Regions from separate parts of the Homo sapiens genome. Here regions 2, 3, 4, 5 and 6 are each linked to region 1. Evidence: promoter capture Hi-C in human tissues and cell types (Jung and others, 2019). All regions are on one chromosome and are shown on one strand. Each heading gives the region's core, a stretch centred on a gene start or on the middle of the fragment in contact. The rest is flanking DNA. Distances are from core to core; before and after follow the strand shown. Region 1 holds the start of PLCB1 (phospholipase C beta 1). Region 2 overlaps PLCB1 (phospholipase C beta 1). Region 3 overlaps TMX4 (thioredoxin related transmembrane protein 4). Region 4 overlaps PLCB1 (phospholipase C beta 1). Region 5 overlaps PLCB1 (phospholipase C beta 1). Region 6 overlaps PLCB1 (phospholipase C beta 1).

Region 1 (3,117 bases), core at 414-2,913:
TTTCAGACACTGGAAAATGGCTTAAGAAGATTAAAGAAAAATACCCTAGAGGATAACAGGCTATAATTTACTAGGTGGAAAATCTTTTCGGCAAGAAGAACGCCTCATTCTCCTATAATTCCTTCTGATTAAGAGATGTATTAGTCATTTGGACTTAAATTTGCTTAGAGCCTGGCAACTCGGGTTTATTTCAGTAGGTTTTTCTTATCGAACCTTTAGAATGACACCCAGGACATAAAACTGATACCATAATGTTCTCCATCCGAAGATTCGCATGTTTTCAGCTGGATAACTAATTTACGTGTTTTGAAGACAACTGGGGTAGAGGGGAAGGGGAAGTCATTTGAAGTCCTGGGGTCTGGGCCGCTCGTAAAGCATTAGAGACCCCGGCGCTGGGCTAGGCTCTGCCCTACCTGGCAAACGGTGCAGGTAAATCGTGGGGCAAACTCTCAACCTGTCTATTTCAGGCAGAAGACTCCAATCAGCTCAGTTCTCAAAAGTCAGCCCTCCCCACTTGCCTGCAGGCCCATGAGCCCTCCAGGACCCCTCAAGGGCCCCCATTCTGTTCACGCCCTCCCCAGATGTGTCCCCGCAGCCCTTTTCAGGGACCCTCACTCCGGAGCCAGGCGCTGAAGTTTGGCATCAACGACCACCTGTTGGCTGGACCGTTGTGTCCTCCGCCGCCTTGGCTCCCACAAAAGCGCCAAGAGGGTTCGCAATCACTAAAGTGTTTTGAACTTCAGGTCCTTCCTTCTTGAAATCGGGCAAAAGAGGTAATAGGGGGTGCGTCCGCAGGCGGAGAGGGACGCGATTTGTTCACACCAGGCGCTTTCCAGTTGGTCCCAACTTCACACTCCCTACTTTCCGAACTCTCAGGACCTGTCACCAGGCAAAGCTTGCCCCTCCCTCTCCACTGGCCCAAAAGATGTAAGACCCTCAGGGGGCGCCTGCCAGACCCAGAAAGGATGGCAACTACTGAAGCCCGATGAAACAGGAGCGCGCGCAAAGCTTCTGCCCTTGGACATCCGCTTTGGCAGATGCCAACCTGTGCGCCCGAGGCTGCCCCTGCCCGCTCCCAGTGCGCCCATTGCATAACGCGCCCCTTGCCCCACCCCCACGACGCCCGCCCTGCCCGGTGCCCGAGCCAGCGCCCCGACTCGGGCCGCCCCAATACTTACATCATCCCACTTGACGAATTTGGTGCCCTTCTTGAGGCTGTCGGACACGCACACGGGCTTGAGTTGCAAGGCGTGCACTCCGGGTTGAGCCCCGGCCATCTGGGCTCATCTGGGCTCCGGGCGGCCCGGGCGAGCGCGGCAGGGACTGGGGACCGTGCGCGGGGCGCGGGGCGCGGGGCGCGGGCTCCTTTCTCTGCTCCGGAGGCGCTCGACTCTGCTCCCCGCCGGCCTCCCCGGCCTCCCGGCCTCCGCACCTCCCTCCGGCGCCGCTCAGCAGGCAGAGCGCGCGGGGGCGCAGCGCCCGGCCATGCCCCGGGCGGGACGCGAGGTCTGGAGCCCGCGGTGGATGAGGAGCCTCGGAAGGCGAAGAGAAGCCGAGCCGGTCAGCCGAGGCTGCCAGTCGCGGCGGATTCTGCTCCTCCGCCGCCGCCGCCTCAAAGCGCACCATTCAGCACATCCTCTATACACAGAGGGAGAGAGCGAGTGACACACGCCCGGCGCCCCCCCTAACCGCTCTTTTCCCTCCTCCCTCCTCCTCCCCCCCGCCCCCCTTCCCCGCCACCCTCGCTCGCTGGGTCCTTCCTTCCCCCCGCGGCTCCCAGCCCAACTTTGCACGCTGGGTCAGGCGCCAGGAAGCGGGGACGCAGCGGCACCTCCTGGCTCCCGAGCCCCATTGCAGCCAACGCCTGCCTCCCGCATTCGCTCTGAGCATGCCCCGTGCCCTGGTTGCAGAGGTGCTAGGGGTCCCCAGGAGCCTTACGCTCTTTGGGGTTTTCTTGGGAATTTGGGCTCGAGCTCCGGAGCGTCTTTGGATCCCAACTGGCTGGGAAAAGGGGCCCATCGGGAGGAACCAAAGAGGCAACCCCTGGCTTTTGGCTCTAGCTGGAGCTCTCCAGCGCCAGCCACAAACCAGCTTTTTGAAGAGAATTATCATTTATCAGCAGAGAAGAGCGCAGTTGAGAGGCTCTTTGAGGAAACCTGGCCGCGCCTGAGAGTTTGCAGCGCGCTGATCTTGAAACCCGGGCAAACGGTTACGTTGTGCTTTCGAGACAGAAAGCCCATCCTAAAGAAAGCAAAGGTTTTATTTTCCGAGGAAGAAAGAGGGTGCCCTCTCCCGCTCCTCTCCTTGAGTGTGTAGGATGTGTGGCGGGTGGGGGAGAGTCTTATTAATAGAAACTTGCTCATTTAGGAACATAGGTCCAGGAATGTTTGTCTTCACTCCTTCCACAAACATTTCTCAATTCAAGAAAGAAAGGGAGGGAGGGAGGGAAGAAGGGAAAGAGGAGGACCAGAATGGATAAAATTTTAAAGACTGGTAATACCAAATGCTTGAAAGGATGTGGAGCAACTGGAACTCTTTTTTTTTTTTTATTAAGGAGAGAGAGGAGAGGGAGAGAGAGAGTGAGTGAGTGTGAGAGAGAGAAAGAGAGAGAGAGAGAGACACACGCGGGAGGTGGGGGGGCGGAGAGAGAAATAGCTTGGAACTCTTGTTCATTGCTGGAGGGAATATAAAATAGTAAAACCACTTTGGAGAATAGTTTCTTATAAAGTAAGATATTTACTTATCATACAACCTAGAAATTCCACTCCTAAGTATTTGTCCAAAAGAAATGAAAACGTTCAAGTCTGCAGGGACTTGTAAAGTGATGTGAAGAACTTTCTTCTTAGTAGCCTGCAAATGTCAATCAACAGGTGAATGGATAAACAAACTGTGGTATGCCCAAATATTGGAATACTATTCCACAATAAAAATGAGTGGGCATGCAAGATCAGGGATGAATCGCGACTTTAAGCTTTGTAAAAGAAGCCGGACACGATAGACTGTATGCTGCCTGATTCCATGTGTAGGAATTGCAGAATAGGCAAGATATTCTATGTTGACAGAAAGCTTGCCTGTGGCCAGGGATAGGTAGAGATGGACAGGGAAGGGCTACGAGCA
Region 2 (3,145 bases), core at 618-3,117, 220 kb before region 1:
CAATCTGCATTATAACAAATCCTACAGGTGATTCTGATATACTTTTAAGTTTGAGAACCACTGAGACGCACTCTTAGAGACTGGTAACATTTATCTTGTGGATATACCAGGGTTTCTTCTTAATAATTCCCTTACTTATAAACACTCAAGTTTACTTTAAAGCACTCAGAAGAAGCATGTTATCCTATTTAAATAATTGATGTTTATGATGATCAGATGTTATTTTTGAACAAAATATATAACTAAAAGTTGATACACTGGAAAAGAGAGAGAGAATTTCAGTACAAATACAAAGAAAAGAATTCTGGACACTATGGAGTCTCACTTTATACCATATCTATTCTGCAGGTCTATTTTTAAAGCTAAGAAGAAAAAATACAGTATGATGAGATTTTGTTGCATTAAAAATCATTTAATGCTGAGACTCTAGTGATTTCTTTAATATTACTTTAATCCCTTATAAGCATTCCCGAATGCTTTATAAATACTTTTTGTTGCAATTATTATTAAACCATTTAAGGTGCAAAAAAGCTGAGGGTTAAGTGCCCCCATTATACTTGGTGATTACTGCAGGAGTCCTTACTATAATGGTGCTACTCTTCTCTCCATACAGGTGAGTGGGTTAGCACAGTTCAGCAATACTGGGCTCGCACAGAGCTTAAGGCAAAGGTTGCTCATTCGCCACCAAACTTTGCACTTTGCCTTACACAGTTCAAAGAATTACAGGGAAATTGCTGCCTGAATACAGCCACATTTCACATCACCCTTTGCTTGCATTTAAGGAGGGTCATATGAATAGTTCTCACAAATGGAAGGTTAATGGAAGAGACGAGGGTCATTTCAGGTCTTTTTCTTTCTCCTGTGTCCTTTTTAAAGAGGACAGAGAGACCCTAGGAGATACTGGAGCTGTTAGATTGGACAGAGTCTAAGTCCCTAAATCACCAGGTAGAAGAAAATCACCTTATATCAAAAACACCCACACTAGGCTTCTAAGTAAATGAGGAATACTTTTTAATGTGTTAAGCTATTGAAACTCTGGCATTTATTTTTTATTGTACCTATGATCTCCAAATAATATGGGGCTTAAATGACCTTTTCTTTCTTTCTTTTTTTTTTTAAGACAAATACCACTATCTCTGATCATAGAAAGTCACAAGCACATGGGATATTAGAAAAGGAAAAAGAATGTTATAAGCAAAGAACCTGTTTTATCCCCATTTAATAGATGGTAAAACTGAGATCTCTACATGTTAAGTAATTTGACAGCACATAGCTAATGAGTTGTACAACTAGGGTTCCATTTCATGACTGTAGACTCTAATACGCCAGATACATCAACACATTTAAACCACTTCTCTGACTTGGTAGACAGAATCCCATGAATTTATAGCAAGCGTTCTCTAATATATGTAGGATCAGCTAAGTTCACTTAAACGTTACAGCCTTACTGAAAAAATTCTGCTATATTCCTATGTGTATGGAATTTTCACTGTTACTAAATTCAAGTCATTGACAGAAAACCATGATCTCAAATGTTAGCTCTGTAGTGAGAAATAATAGTACTAGCATATAATGCTGTTGTGAGGGTTAAAATAATATATAAAATAAACAGAGTTCAATGCCTGGCTTCTAAATGCCAGTCCATTAATATAACATCTGATTTCCCCAACTCTCCTCCGCTCAGAGGGCCAGTATTCGGGGCCAAAGTGTATCAGAGCCTCCACTTTTTGTTCTGTTTTTCCACATTCAATACAGTATTTAATTTACTAATAAACAAAAAGTTTGTTTTGTATTTCTTGCCTTGTGTTGTAAGGTTTTTGGAAGAGGGTGTGTACAATTTAAAAATTACGAAGTAAAGAGAAAACCGTGAGTACTAATTTATTTGCTGTGATTTCTAAACAGGTGTTTTCTTTCCTGGTGTTCTAGTAATGGAAGTGTTTTGCCCTGTGAATCTTACGCAGTTTTCCTTCCTATCCCATTGCTTTGTTGTTGGTCCACTTTTAGATTTTGTTTTTAGTCCTTCTGATGTTTCTCTTCTCTAGTTTTCTGTGTCTTTGAGTTTTTTTCTTGAAATACTTGTTTTACTTTGATAAAATACACGATACAAATTACAATTTTAATCATTTTTAAGTATACAACTCAGTGGCATTAGGTACATTCACATTGTTGTGTAACCATCACCACCATAAATCTCAGGAACCTTTTACATCTTCTCAAATAGAAATTCTGTACATGTTAAGCAATAACTCTCCATTCTCTAACCTTCACTTCCAGCCCCAGGCCACCACGATTATATGTTTAGCTTTGGTCTTTTTTTTTTTTTTAAATAGCCTTCTATTCTAGAATAATTTTAGATTTACAGAAAATTTGTACAGAGAATTTCCATGTATGTCACAGGCAGTTCTCCCTATGGTTAATATCTTACATTAGTATGATACATTTGATACAACTAATATACCAATATTGATACTTTAATATTAACTAAGGCCCATACTTCATTGATATTCCTTAGTTTTGACCTACTGTCCTTTTCCTGTGCCAAGAGCCCATTCACGACACCATACTGCATTTAGTCCACCTGTCATCTTAGGGTGTCTCTTTGGCATTCCTTGCTTTTGATGACCTTAACAGTTTTGAGGAGTACTAGTCAGGTATTTTCTAGAATATCCCTTAATATGGGTACAGGATGTTTTTCTCATGATTAGGCTGAAGTTGTGGGTTTCGGGAGAGAGACCACAGAGGTAAAATGCCATTTTCATCACATCATGTCAAAGGTACCTACTATCAACATGACTTAATACTGATGAGATTATCCTTGGTCAGCTGACTGAGGCAGTGTTTGTCAGTTTCTGCATCACAATTACTCTTTATCCCCTCTTTCCATATTGTGCTTTTTTTGCAGGAAGTTGCTATGTGAATCCCACACTTAAGAGAAGGCAGTTATGCTCCTACATAAATTATTTGGTATCCTATATGGGAGAATTGTGTATTCTTCCCAATTATTTATTCATTCAATGACTGATTTATAATAATGTGGCCTATGGATACTTATTTTATACTTTGAGTTGCAATCTAATATCACATCTTTATTTTGTTGCTTAAATTGTTCCAGCTTTGACCATTGAGAAGTCTTTTAGTTGGTTCC
Region 3 (3,043 bases), core at 501-3,000, 140 kb after region 1:
GAAGATGACAAAACAGTATAATGGATGTTTATATGGCGTTTTTGTGTGTATATAGGAAAATGCTTAGAGATCAACAGTAGTTTTCTCTGATATGGGTGATTTTTAAAAACGTTTTTTCTATAACTTCTATTTTCTTCTGTAATGAAAAAATGAAAACAATATATTTAGATCAGAGCCTATTGAGCTAGTAATTATCTAGAAGATATCTAGAAGATCAGAGATATATCTAGAAGATCAGCGCCTACTGAATTAGTGATTCCTTAAGGGGCTTGGGTTTCTTTCTGCCTTAGAAGTGAAGCCAACTTGCTAGGTTGCACATTCTGGAGATAAAAGCTGGTCCTCAAGATTCTAGGATCACCTGGTGATGAGACACTCACATGGCCGAATTCCTATCAACTCAGGAGTTGGTTTGGTTTGCATTTGGCCTTCTTAACTTCATACCAACCTCCCCTATGTTCTTGCTTGAGTAAACTGTTGAGGTGAGAAAGTCCCTTGAATAGTCTTATGAGGCAGTTCCTGTCAGCTTCCTGCTGTTACCCTGAATCCCAGGGATCCTCGATATGTCATTCATACCACAATATGGACAAGAGTAGATGATCTCCAGTGTTCTTTCCATCACTAAATTTAAATTTTCTTTCCAATTCACTCATGATGGCGCTCACCTGCATATTTTAATTTTTATATAAACTCACAGAAGTAATTACCTCATTAGCTGTTAATATCTATCCTCACAAATAGTCTCAACATTTTACCCATCTCACAGATGGAGTCACTGAGGCCTAGGAGATGGGACAGTTAGAGGAGTTTCTCAGAGAGTTGACATCTTCAAAGGACAAAATTGATTTTGATTTTATATTATAGTAGCAATATCCAATTTCTTTAAAATTGTATGCAACTTAGTGACTAAATGAAAAATGTTAATACTCTAATGGATAGTACAAGGTGAGGTGAATATCATAAAAGCAATGTGCAGAAGATTGAACTTCAGGAAGCATCACTGCCAAGTCTGGTGGCATAGTTAGGATTAGAAGTTCTTGGGTTTTGTGTGTGGCACATGTGTGGAGAGAGACTGTCCAGTCTTCTGTCTTCCCTCTTTTCACAGTTGGCTACAGTGCTACAGAGTGGCACTATCCTTCTCTTCCAGAAACACATCATTGTTTCACACCTTATGTGTAGGCCCCTGAATCCTATTTTTTTTTTTTCCAGCCATAGACTTGTTCCTAGAACCCTTTGAGTGCCTAGTGCAGAATCTGGTACCTAGTTAATGTGCTTGATAATTGCTTTTTGTTAGTTATATGTATTAATCATTATTGTCTTCATTATTTTACTTTTTCCTTCTCTTTATAGCCAACGTGGAATACTTTAACTTTTGTTAATTTTTTTAGCCAATGCTGATAGCAGGCTTAAAATAGGGTTCCGTGGCAGTTGCTCAGCATATAGGTTGAGCATCCCCAAATCCAAAAATCCAAAATCCAAAATGCTCCATAATCTGAAACTGTTTGAGCACCAACGTGACACTTAAAGGAAGTGCTCACTGGAGCATTTTGAATTTCCGATTTTTGGATTTGTGATGTTCACCTGGTAAGTGTAATGCAAAAATCTGAAAAAATCAGAAATCTGAAGGCTGTCTGGTCCCAAGCATTTGGAATAAGGGATACTCAACCTGTATATGCTTTTGCGAACTAAGTTTAGCATTTAAATGTATTTAAAGCATTTTTTATTGGATTTGTTGAATCTCTGCTGCTCACTGATAATATAGGATGTAACTTCCCTTTCCTAAATGTTACTGTCGTTTTGAGAGGATGTAGGCATATGGCAGATTTTAGCTAAAATAAGATGTGCTACATCCTTGGGAGGACAATCTGTGTGATGGATGCTACCTTCCCTTTTTATTAGAATGACGTGACAGAAAACTTAAGGCTTTATTTAAAATATCTGATGATGAGAATTAAAAGCCATGAACATTTAGACTAGAGAAGAACAAAGTGTATTTTAAAACTTGAAAACATTCTTCTGTGATTTACATAGCATGCCTCTTCTCAATGTTTTTTTCGTATAAAAATGTTTAGAATGTTTTGTAGAATGTTATAGTGAGACAGTGGTGCACATCTGTAAGGTACCTTTCATAGATCCTACAAGAGGCTGCAAGGTTATGTTTTGTTACAAGTGCTAAGAGCTAAAGCATGAAAGAGGTGAACCCTTGGCCATCATTGAAGAGTCTTTTCTAGCTGTTTCCTTGCAGGGAAGATATTTTGGGGATTCTGATCTGTGTCTGAAAGAGATAAAGGGCTTGTTCCAGAACTCCTCAGAGAGTATATCCTATGACACAGGTGAACTCTAAATCCAAAGGCTCTCTGTCCTTCAGGGCCAGTCTAGGTTTGAATGAGACTCTGCAACACTGGGCTGGATGAGTGGGTGTGACTAAGTAGTATTTAATCCAACCTGCAGTAGTTTAGACTTCCAGAGGGAGTGCTTGCCTTTCTGGGGAGGGAAGGCTCTACCTCAGATGCATGGAGGCCTTGGCTTGGCTGTCTTCCTTAAGTCTGTCTGACCACTGATTAGAATGCTCTTCTCATTTATTCTGTTGTAATGATGTTTTAATTTCATCTTCTCACTCAAATATGTATGTAGCCAAAAGTTAGCTCTAACTTAATCATGTACTATGATAGTATAAGGTGTCACACCCATCAGATGACATTTTAGTGCATTTTCAGTGAACAGACTAAGATTTTTTTTTTTTTTGAGGCAGAGTCTCACTGTGTCACCCAGGCTGGAGTGCAGTGGGGCGATCTCAGCTCACTGCAACCTCCGCCTACCGTGTTCAAGCAATTCTCCTGCCCCAGTCTCCCAAATAGCTGGGACTACAGGCGCCTGCCACCAAGCCCCACTAATTTTTGTATTTTTGTTAGAGACAGGGTTTCACCATATTGGCCAGGCTGGTCTCGAACTCCTGACCTCGTGATTCACCCGCCTCGGCCTTCCAAAGTGCTGGGATTACAGGTGTGAGCCACCGCGCCCAGCCCGAGTAAGATACTTTCTTATT
Region 4 (3,415 bases), core at 377-2,876, 130 kb before region 1:
TATTTGGATAGTAAATGCCTCCCCCACCCATTGGCAAGTCTTAAATGGTACTTCGCCATTCGCTTGTGGAATGAAAAGGCCCTGAATTAGACAATTCAAATGGTAACAACTATCCCAGTGCTTTCATGTGTCAGATTCAGGACCAAGTGTTTTTTTATATGCATTCACTCATTTAATCCTCACAACTGCTCTAAGGAATAGACACTGCTGTTCCCATTTTATGGAGGAGAAGATTGAGATTGTTCAAAATTATGCAGCTAATGACTGGTGTAATTGGTAGAGGTAGGATTAAGTCCAAGAATACCTGCCACTAAAACTGATGATCTTAAACATAGAATTCTGTACAGTGTCAGACAAATGACAAGTATTTTCAGCGTAGCCATTTCCTGGACTTACGAGTAATTTCCTTTTGAGGTAAGAGCTAGAAATAGGGATAGGACTCTCAAGGTTTCCTCATTAATTATCTCCCTGACCCCCTAAAATGCATCTCCAACCATACATGTTGGCAGATTACATGGATTGCTACATTTCCCCAGGGCAGTAGGAGGAAAGCACCAAAATTCTTTAGAATGAAACTTCATATCTGTCATTTGCTAAGGTGAAAATATCCTTTGCTGCCAATAAATATTGACTTACACCACATTAATAAAGAATCAAAATCAGGCATAAGAGATGAACATATGTGTGTGTACCTACATACACACACACAGTCATGTGCCCCATAATGACATTTCAGTCCATGAGAGACTGCCTATATGATAGTGGTCCCATAAGATTATAACAGAGCTGAAAAAATTCCTATAACCTAGTGATGTCATGGCTGCCATAACGTTGCAGAGCAACACATCACTCATGCGTTTATGGTATTGCTGGTACAAGCAAAACTATATTGCTGCTAGTTGTATAAAACTCTAGTACATAAAATTATGTATAGTACATAATACTTGATAATGATAATAAACAACTATGTTACTGGTTTATGTGTTTACTATACTATACTATACATTTCATTATTATTTTAGAGTATACTCTTCCTAATAATTAAAGAAAAAAATTAACTGTAAAACAGTCTCAGGTGGGTCCTTCAGTGGCAATTTCAGAAGAAGGCATTGCTATCATATGAGGTGACAGTTCCATGCATATTATCGCCCCTGCAGACCTTCCAGTGGGACAAGATGTGGAAGTGGAAGATAGTGATATTGATGATGCTGACTCTGTCTGAGTAGGTTAATGTGTGTGTTTGCATCTTAGTTTTTAACAAACAAGTTTAAAAAGTAAAAACTAAATATTTAAAAATTGAAGAAACTTATAGAATAAGTCTGTAAAGAAATAAAATATTTTTGTACAGTTGTACAATGTGTTTGTGTTTCAAGCTGAGTGTTCTTACAAGAGTCAAAAGTTTAAATAATTTAAAAGTTTATAAAGTAAAAAAGTTAAAGTAGCTAAGGTGGATAATTTATTATTGAGGGGAAAAGTTTATTAAAATAAATTTATTTTAGCCTAAGTATACAGTGTTTATAAATTCTCTAGTAGTGTACATTAATGTCCTAGGCCTTCACATTCACTCACCAGTCACTCAACAACTCACCCAGAGCAACTTCCAGGCCTAGGAGCTCCATTCATGGTAAGTGTTTTATACAGGTCCATTGTTCTTTTATCTTTTATATCGTATTTTCAATGTACCTTTTCTATGTTTACATACATTTAGATACATGAATACTTACCATTATGTTACAATTGCTTACAGTATTCAGCACAGTAATATGCTGTACAAGTTTGTACCTAGGAGCAATAAGCTATGCCATATATTTTAGGTATGTAGTAGTCTCTACCATCTAGGTTTGCATAAGTTCAGTCCCTGATGTTCACACAATATCAGAATGAATCCCCAGCATTAAGTGACACATGATTATAATATATAATAAGGAAAGAATTAGCAATTTTTATGTTACATAGTGAAGGCGTTCAAATTTCTCCTAATGGGATTGAGTCAACTGATGTCATATTTGAGGAAATAACCTCAGCATTTGAAAGTGATGTTTAATGTCACAATCTGAAATAATATTGAACCAATTAAAACTTTTATTGATGATATGCTCAGCATCTCCTTTTTAATACAGTCATTTTGATTTTTCTTCTAGTAATGAGAAATTGCCTCATTTCTTAACTACTCCAGAGTTTAACCCAGGCTAATAATCAACAGTTACCAGTTACTGAACACTTACTCTGTGCCAGACACAATTTTTTTTTGGTACTATAGATATTAACTCATTCATTCCCATCTAACAGATGACAAAACTGAGGCTTAGAGAGGTTAAGTAAGTTGTCCAGGATTATTTGGGCAGTCAGTGGCAGAGCTGAAATGTTGCCTGTCCTGCATTAGGAATGTTTATGTGTTCCCCCAAATTCATTTGTTGAAGCCCTTAATCCCCAATGTGATTATATTTAGAGGTGGGGCCTTTGTGAGGTAATTAGGTTTAGATTAGGTCATCAGAGGGGGACCCTCATGATGGAGTTAGAGCCCTTGTAAAAAGAGGAAGACGAATCTTTCTCTCTCTCTCTCATTCTCTTTCTCCCTCATACACAAACAAAAGGAAGGTCAGTTGAACACACAGCAAGAAGGCAGCTGCAAGTCAGAAAGCAGGTCCTCACCAGGAACCAAATCTGTTGGCACTTTCATCTTAGACTTCCCAGCCTCTGGAATGGTGAGAAATAACTGTCTGTTGTTTAAGCCACTCCGTCTATGATATTTTGTTATAGCAGCCTGTACGAAAAGAGAGCTCAAATTTTGGGGAGCATAAAACATTCAGATAATGAAGCTGGGTATTCATATATTTCAAATAGCCAGGTACACCTAGACTCTTCCAGTGACTGAAGGCAATTCTAAATTCTGCTGAGCGGCATGCTCTAAACTATGTCTCCCTGTTTCTCTTTCTTCATTGGGGTTCTCACGAAACAAAGACACCATGGATTATACATTCCCCACTGCTGCATCCCTCTAATATTTGGGTATTTCCTTGTGTTAAGAAGGGAAGAAAGGCCGGGTGCAATGGCTTACACCTGTAATCCTAGCACTTTGGGAGGCCAAGGCAGGTGGATCACCTGAGGTCAGGAGTTCGAGACCAGCCTGACCAACATGGTGAAACCCCGTCTCTACTGAAAATACAATAAAAAAAAAAAGTAGCCTGGCGTGGTGGCATGTGCCTGTTGTCCCAGATATTTGTGAGTCTGAGGCAGGAGAAACAGGCAAATCCTTAAACTCAGGAGGTGGAGGTTGCAGTGAGTTAGCTGAGATCATGCCACTGCACTCCAGCCTGGCAAGACTCTGACAGAGCAAGACTCTGTCTCAAAAACAAACAAACAAACAAACAAAAACGCACATAAAAACAAAAAATGAAGGGAAGGAATAATCCCC
Region 5 (3,441 bases), core at 549-3,048, 150 kb before region 1:
TTCTTTCTTTGACAGCCTCCCAGGGCAAGAGTTCCAGATATCAAGATGAATGGCTACTTCTCATTTTTTTGTAGCCTCCAGGCCCCTCAAGGACAAGAAGCTGACTAACAAGAAGCTCTATTTTAGTTCATATTGGCATCTGGATAGAAACGCAAGATAGAGAAGGGCAGACCTAAAACACAGCCTTCAAGTTCAGCCAAGAATTTCCAATGTACCGATTGGAGGGTCCTCTGCAACTAGCCTAAGTCAGTGGAAGAAATATAATAGACAGTTACACCTCAGATAGAGAAGTTCTTTGGTTTAGCACATGTCAAGTGCTTGTTTAAAGCAGAGTTAAACAGGCTAACTCTAGGGCATTTAATAAGCTGCTGCCAAATATATTCAAAATGGCTGCGTCCAACACACATCTTTGTCTTCTTCTTGATGAAGACATCTAAAATCTTTCTCTAAGTGTAATGTCAGTAAAATCTACCCAAATCCTCAATGCTTAAGCTTCATTGGTAATAAATAGGTTTTTAACTGGCCCCATGGACCTTAGCTTTAGGAGGCGTTAATGCAGCAAAGATCATTGTCACATGTAAATGCCATAAATTCCGTGAGTAATTACTAGTTTGTGTAGGTGACGTTGAGGTAATGAACAAGCCAAGAGGGTCCATGCTGATTCTTTGTACATCCATCAGGCAATGCTATGATTCTGCTGGCTTAATTATTACACCTTGTAAAGATGAATGCGGGGAACATGCCTGCCTTGTCGGCAGCCTCCCAGGGGACTGGTACTGAGTAATTGCTTTCCAGCCCTGTAGGAATCATCTACATGGAGCCACAGGCACCATCTGGCTCTCCATTCCTCCTCCACATGCCTTAGCAAGCCTCCTGGGGACAAGATGAGGTATTGGGGGTGGCAGTTACCATCAATAAGCTGGTGACATCTTATCCTCTTCTTTATTCTAATCACAAATTTTATATTATTAAATATTCGTGATCCCAGAAACACTGTGCTAAATATATAAAAAATCAATGTACATGTATATATTATATCACAGGCTACTACAACATCATATATAACACACTATTAAATATTAAATATATTTATACATAAACATAAATATGGACTAAGTTTACTTATACTGAGGTGAGATTGTTTTGGGATATAGAGTAAAGAGTCACACATGAATAGGTAGGAAATATTTAATAGACACCACTGTAGAATTTGTCTTGTTTTCTGAGGAAAGTACATTCCTTTAAATCTCTCTTATCACAAAAAATTCAACATAAAATCCTGTTGGATTAAAAAGTTAAATATTAAAATATTAGATGAAAAATTTGGATATGAGAATTTATATCCTTGGCTGGTCTTACTATATACAAAGCAAATGGAAGAAGTATAGACAAAAGTCCACTGATAATTTCTACAGTATGAGAATTTTCACCCTGTCCAGGCCAAAACCATGATACTTACTTACAAGGAGAACAGGAAACTGAGAAAGTATTATATTAAAAATAAAGCAGACAAGAGACTATTATATAGCAGCTACTATAAGGAGATCCTCTCTTTAATATAAGGAACTGGCAAATAAATCCCTGTGTTTCATTGAAGGACAGCGCTTAGAAAGATTCAAGAGCTCTAACATATAGTAGACAATAACTGTTGAATTGTTAAAAATTAATTAACAAAAGGAGGAATGGACAAAGAGCACACTCAGACAATTCACATGGAAGGAACTGTAAAGGATTAATGTACTGGATGCTGTGGGTCCCGTGCCCAGATCTGCTCTACTGGCCAACAGTCCATTATCTTCTGGTTCAAATACTTCTGGGAGTATGTATATATTGCTTCTATGATGAAATAGTAATATAAAATAATTTTTGTCAGTATATTGAATAACATGGAAATATCATTACATAATATGAGAAATCAGGAATCAGGGCAGTAAACAGGCTAAGTTAATGGCATTCACGTAAACTTGGTGCTGAGAAAATGTACCTTTTCTTTTTCTTTTGATATGGAGTTACACTCTGTCACCCAGACTGGAGTGCAGTGGCACCATCTTGGCTCACTGCAACCTCTGCCTTCAGGGTTCAAGCGATTCTCCTACCTCAGCCTCCTGAGTAGCTGGGACTACAGGCATATGCTACCACGCCCGGCAAATCTTTGTATTTTTGTAGAGACGGGGTTTAGCCATGCTGGCCAGGCTGGTCTCGAACTCCTGACCTCAGGTGATCTGCCTGCCTTGGCCTCCCAAAGTGCTGGGATCACAGGCATGAGCCACTGTGCCAGGATGAAAATTTATCCTTTTCTCTTATGCTATGCTTCTTGGATTCCTTATAAAATGACCAATGGACTACTATATGAAAGGACTAATGTATCCAGCCCTGAAAAAATACCATCAATATTTGAGAAACATAAATATTTAGCTAAATATTAGTGAGAAGAGAAATTGTTTGAAGGGAAACACCAGGAACTATCTTGGAAGCCTCTCACTTGAGAAATAAACACAGCATGATTACATGACAATGCTCACAGTATCCTACAAACCCCGCACTGGTGGGTACAGGTGTGAAGGCCATAGGAGTAGGTTGCTCTATCTTATGAAGCAGCTACCCAAGTAAACTATGGCTCATCTTCCTGACCTGGAGCTTCATTTCAATAATGCCGTGGGTAGCTGCTCAAGGAGGGTCATGTATCCATGGTCACACTATGTACCTGATACAGAGACCAGTCCAAACAGAAAGTTAAACACAGAAAATGGCCATGTCCTTCAAGTGTCTGGATCAATGAACCAGCCACATGAACCTATGACTGTAATATCCAGTCTTCCAGGTTAAGAGATGAGATAGGGTTCTTAAAAAATAAAAATTAAAAATTGGATGTGAAAATATACTAGAATCTAGCCACCATTATTTCATGTTTATGGTCAAATATCTGGCCTACTTCATAGTCTCTATGTTCAATTCTGAATAAATATGAAAAGGAATAAAAACATTTCAAAAGATTGAGCCCTGAAGATACTGTGATGTATATGTATATAGATATAAATATATATATTTAGAAATATTTTATATTTATATGTATAGAAATATATATATATAAAAGCAAAACGAAGAGAAGGAGCATACATTTGGGAAAATATTTACTAGAGCAAACACAAGTGAAGCATCTGGTTTATAGGATCAATAAAATTCCTTGAAACAATAACTCTATAAACAATGAGACAAAAATGCCAGAGAATGAGATAAAACAGGAGCTAGACACATGCAGAAACAAAACAAGAACAGGGTAGGCTAACATAACACTGAGAAATAAAAATACCATAACAATATTAAAATCTTTATTAGAAAACGAGCACATAAATGTCAGATCAGAAAAAGCAAACCACTGGTACAGGAACAAACCCTTTAAATTCTCCCAGAATGAAGAGGCACAAAAGACAAACAGATTCT
Region 6 (3,413 bases), core at 852-3,351, 190 kb before region 1:
GCTAACAAGCCTTCTATGGTAGAGGCCTTCTATGGCAGAGGCTGTTTTCCAATACCCAGGTTTTCCTTTCTTCGTTTTGGCAAGAGCAACTTCTGAGTCTGTTGGTTGAACTCTTGCATTAAGCTACATTTTCCAACTTCCCTTGCAGCTAAGCATGGGCATCTGTCTCAGTTCTGGCCAAAATAGAATGTGAACATCTGTGATTTATGAAAGTTCTGCATTATGTCCTTCAAGGGAAAAATTTCCTCCCACTTTCTTCTCCCTCCCCACAACTGGAATGAGGACATGGTGCTGTAACCCATGTTCAGACATACAAGTACTTTAGCATATGGCGGAACAACATAAAAGAAGCCTGGACACCTCAACAACCAAATGGAGTAGGGTCACATTAAACTGCCCTCTGGTTCAGAACTTAATATGAAAAACAAACAGGCTAGGCACAGTGGCTCACACCTGTAATCCCATCACTTTCAGAGTCCAAGGTGGGTGGATAACTTGAGCTCAAAAGTTCAAGGCCAGTCTGGGCAAAATGGCGAAACTCAGTCTCTCCAAAAAATACAAAACTTAGCCAAGCATGGTGGCGCACGCCTGTAGTCCCAGCTACTCAGGAGGCTGAGGTGGGATAATTGCTTGAGCCCAGGAAGTTGGGGCTACAGTGAATCATGATTGTGCCACAGCACTCCAGCCTGAGCGACAGAGCAAGACCCTGTCTCAAACAAAAAACAAAAAACCTCCATCTAGTTTAAGTCAGTTTTATTTGGACGCTGTGAAAGCAGCCCTGTCAACATTCTAGCAAGTATCAGCATCTGTTTCAGTGTGGTGTTTCAGACCCAATAAGCAGGTCTACTTTTGAGAAAATTCTGGAGGGTCATAGAAGTAAAATTAAAGTGAGGATGCAATCTGGCATTGACTTATACATATTTCTTTTAAAAAAGTAAAAGACATTGGGGGTTTCCCAGACAAAATACATGATTAATAATAGGCATTTGTTGCTTCAGAGACTTCATGGGTTAATAGTTAAACTAAGTCACCAACAAACTTTTCGGAAAAAGCAGGTAACTTACACTAGGAACAATTTTGTCAGTCATAAAAAAGGAAAATATACTTTTTATGAAACTAGGTAAATCACAGGCCAAGGGAAATCATAACCTATCATTCCTAGAAAGCTTAAAAACAACTGAAAATCGCCTATTCTTTGGCCTTCAGCTTGTGCTGTGCTGTAAGCGCTGGGCTGGAATGCAAACCTTCCAGCCCCACAATCTTACACTCAGGACATGGGTGAACACTCACAAGCTAAAGAAATGAGTAACAACAGAAAATTAAACCACATAGTTTAATTTATATGAAGAATCTATTCTGTAGAGGTCAATATATCACTATATAATTTCCCAGAGAATTAATATTTAGTATGAAGAGCTTGAAGAAAATAGGTTAGGACTCTTTCTGAAGTTAGAGGACTCACATAAACACATTTGCAGATATTTACACTTCCAAGTAGGAACACTTAACAGAGAGCAAAATATTTACTTAAACAACCTCGAAGGGTAAATCTCTTTTAAAAGAATCAACTTTTAATTACTGTTACCTAGATTATAAAACCAAATACAAGTACTTGTAGCTTCATACAGATTTTCAAAATAGTCTAAAATGTTTTGTTCCCTGGAAACAACAAGTTTTCCAATGGGCTATGTCCTTTCCAATTCAAATGAAGGTGTTGTCCTCTGGAGCTTTTAAATATCCAAGGTGAAGTCAAGCCTTTCATCCTCTGTACTTTCTGGCACTTCCTGAATATTCCAGTATCCACCTAACCCTGTCATCACTGGCTTGCCCACCCCCATTCCCGCTTAACTAGGAACTCCTCAGGAACAGCCAGAGGTGGAGTCTCACAAAAGCATGGACTCTAAGGACAGACAGGTTTGAATCCAAGTTCCAGCAAATCATATGTGTGTGGCCTTACACGTGTCACTTAACCTTCCTGACCCTTGTCTTTAAAATAGATGAAATGATTAAATGGCTGGCTGTGAGGATTAAATGAATTAATACATGATAAATTTCTCAGCTCAGTACCTGGAACATAGTAAGTACCACTTAAGTGTCACATCAGTCTCTGACTCCATAGGTGCCTGAGAAAACTGCCTTTGAACAGAACAGAGGATTCCCATCATAGTAGGCCAAGTTCAGGGACAGTGTATCTCTCCCAAACAAATGTTGCTTATTAAAATATTTTAAATTTTCCAGTGAAACATAACTAAAACGCTGGGATGATCACACCTCAACAAAATTATCTCATGGGCTTATCAGAGAAGAGTCCAGAATAATGGTCTAGAATGCATCAATCTTAGCTCAGATGATAGCTCCTTCTGGAAGACCTGGAACTTGAAATCTAAAACACTGTTTTTCAGAATGTGCATTAATTCATCCAACCAAGAAAAACCAGTGCTATAGTTTTCAGTCACTTCTTTATTGCAGAGCATCTCTGAAATGTCCTTTCTTTTCTGCCTCACCTGTTAACTCCCATTATTCCTACTCCTGCGAATAGTAGGGGCATGATTATTACATGAATAAAACTTCAGTTTAAATGCAAAGCTTCACAAGAAAAGCACCCGAAAAACCTGTTTGTGTCTGTACTGTGTCAGTATCTTTAATTATCAAAAACTTTAGTATTTTCATTCTTGGAAAATTACTTAGACGTTATTCCCACATGGAAAAATCCATAAGAACCTCTTTCAAATACCCAGAACTGCAATCACCCTGCCTTAGTTTATGTTTCCCTAGAAGCAGTGGCTGTGACAAGGATTTGAGCATAAGTAAATTTTTTTTCTTTGGAAATAGGTAGAGATGCTGATGTTTATGAATTCATGAGACCAAAATAACACTGAAAGCCAATGAGAAAATGCCCCTTGGCAGAGCTTACACTTTTATTTAAAAAAAATGAGAGAACATTAATGGTCTTATTCTCTTTCAACTATAAATCAAACACTTCTACTTGAAAATAATCAGGAAGTCCCCAGTCCCCAGGTTCCAAGGACCCTTGGAGTCCCCGTATCAGAGAAGAGCTGCCAATTAAAGATTTTCCCAGTAATAGTTTGTAAGATCTCATTCATTTAACAAACATTTGTATGCTATTTATGATACATAAATCATAATTTATAGTAAGAAATCAACTATGTGATTATTGCCTAATATGATCCACCTACTCTCTCTATACAAAGCCTATTGTTTATAATTTCCTTTGGATTGATTATAGATTTAGAAGTTTGTTGGGAACTTTTGCCTGACTCTTACGGAAAATATCAAAACTGAATACATGTCTTTCATTAGATTTAATTAGTGTGACTTCTATAATGGTGTGTAAATAATCCTTGTCACGTAGTTTCACACACACACACACACACACACACACACACACACAC

Evidence for each region. Contacts are between HindIII fragments. The study calls those that stand out against the background at their distance.
Region 2: a contact is called between a fragment that was not itself captured here and the fragment with the promoter of PLCB1 in region 1, in 4 of the 25 tissues and cell types used here (dorsolateral prefrontal cortex, liver, lymphoblastoid cells and 1 more).
Region 3: a fragment that was not itself captured here is called in contact with the fragment with the promoter of PLCB1 in region 1 in 1 of the 25 tissues and cell types used here (mesenchymal stem cells).
Region 4: a contact is called between a fragment that was not itself captured here and the fragment with the promoter of PLCB1 in region 1, in 4 of the 25 tissues and cell types used here (IMR-90 fibroblasts, bladder, mesendoderm cells and 1 more).
Region 5: a contact is called between a fragment that was not itself captured here and the fragment with the promoter of PLCB1 in region 1, in 4 of the 25 tissues and cell types used here (bladder, heart left ventricle, hippocampus and 1 more).
Region 6: a fragment that was not itself captured here is called in contact with the fragment with the promoter of PLCB1 in region 1 in 10 of the 25 tissues and cell types used here (bladder, dorsolateral prefrontal cortex, heart right ventricle and 7 more).

What each region holds. Positions count from the first base shown.
Region 1 is chr20:8,130,812-8,133,928 of GRCh38, reverse strand. PLCB1 (phospholipase C beta 1) reads right to left here and starts at 1,663. Exons shown (of 32, transcript NM_015192.4): 1 at 1,179-1,663. The coding sequence starts at 1,277. RefSeq lists a silencer at 1,438-1,577. The HindIII fragment of the contact is 4,653 bases long and covers 1-3,117 here.
Region 2 is chr20:8,353,198-8,356,342 of GRCh38, reverse strand. All of the region lies in intron 2 of PLCB1 (phospholipase C beta 1), which reads right to left. Among named protein-coding and RNA genes, the nearest start is that of PLCB1-IT1, 110 kb to the right of the region's middle. The HindIII fragment of the contact is 6,417 bases long and covers 1-3,145 here.
Region 3 is chr20:7,989,994-7,993,036 of GRCh38, reverse strand. All of the region lies in intron 5 of TMX4 (thioredoxin related transmembrane protein 4), which reads left to right. Among named protein-coding and RNA genes, the nearest start is that of TMX4, 28 kb to the left of the region's middle. The HindIII fragment of the contact is 6,623 bases long and covers 1-3,043 here.
Region 4 is chr20:8,262,014-8,265,428 of GRCh38, reverse strand. The region is part of intron 2 of PLCB1 (phospholipase C beta 1); the gene reads right to left. Among named protein-coding and RNA genes, the nearest start is that of PLCB1-IT1, 15 kb to the right of the region's middle. The HindIII fragment of the contact is 5,647 bases long and covers 1-3,415 here.
Region 5 is chr20:8,284,883-8,288,323 of GRCh38, reverse strand. The region is part of intron 2 of PLCB1 (phospholipase C beta 1); the gene reads right to left. Among named protein-coding and RNA genes, the nearest start is that of PLCB1-IT1, 38 kb to the right of the region's middle. The HindIII fragment of the contact is 5,881 bases long and covers 1-3,441 here.
Region 6 is chr20:8,324,204-8,327,616 of GRCh38, reverse strand. All of the region lies in intron 2 of PLCB1 (phospholipase C beta 1), which reads right to left. Among named protein-coding and RNA genes, the nearest start is that of PLCB1-IT1, 77 kb to the right of the region's middle. The HindIII fragment of the contact is 5,117 bases long and covers 1-3,413 here.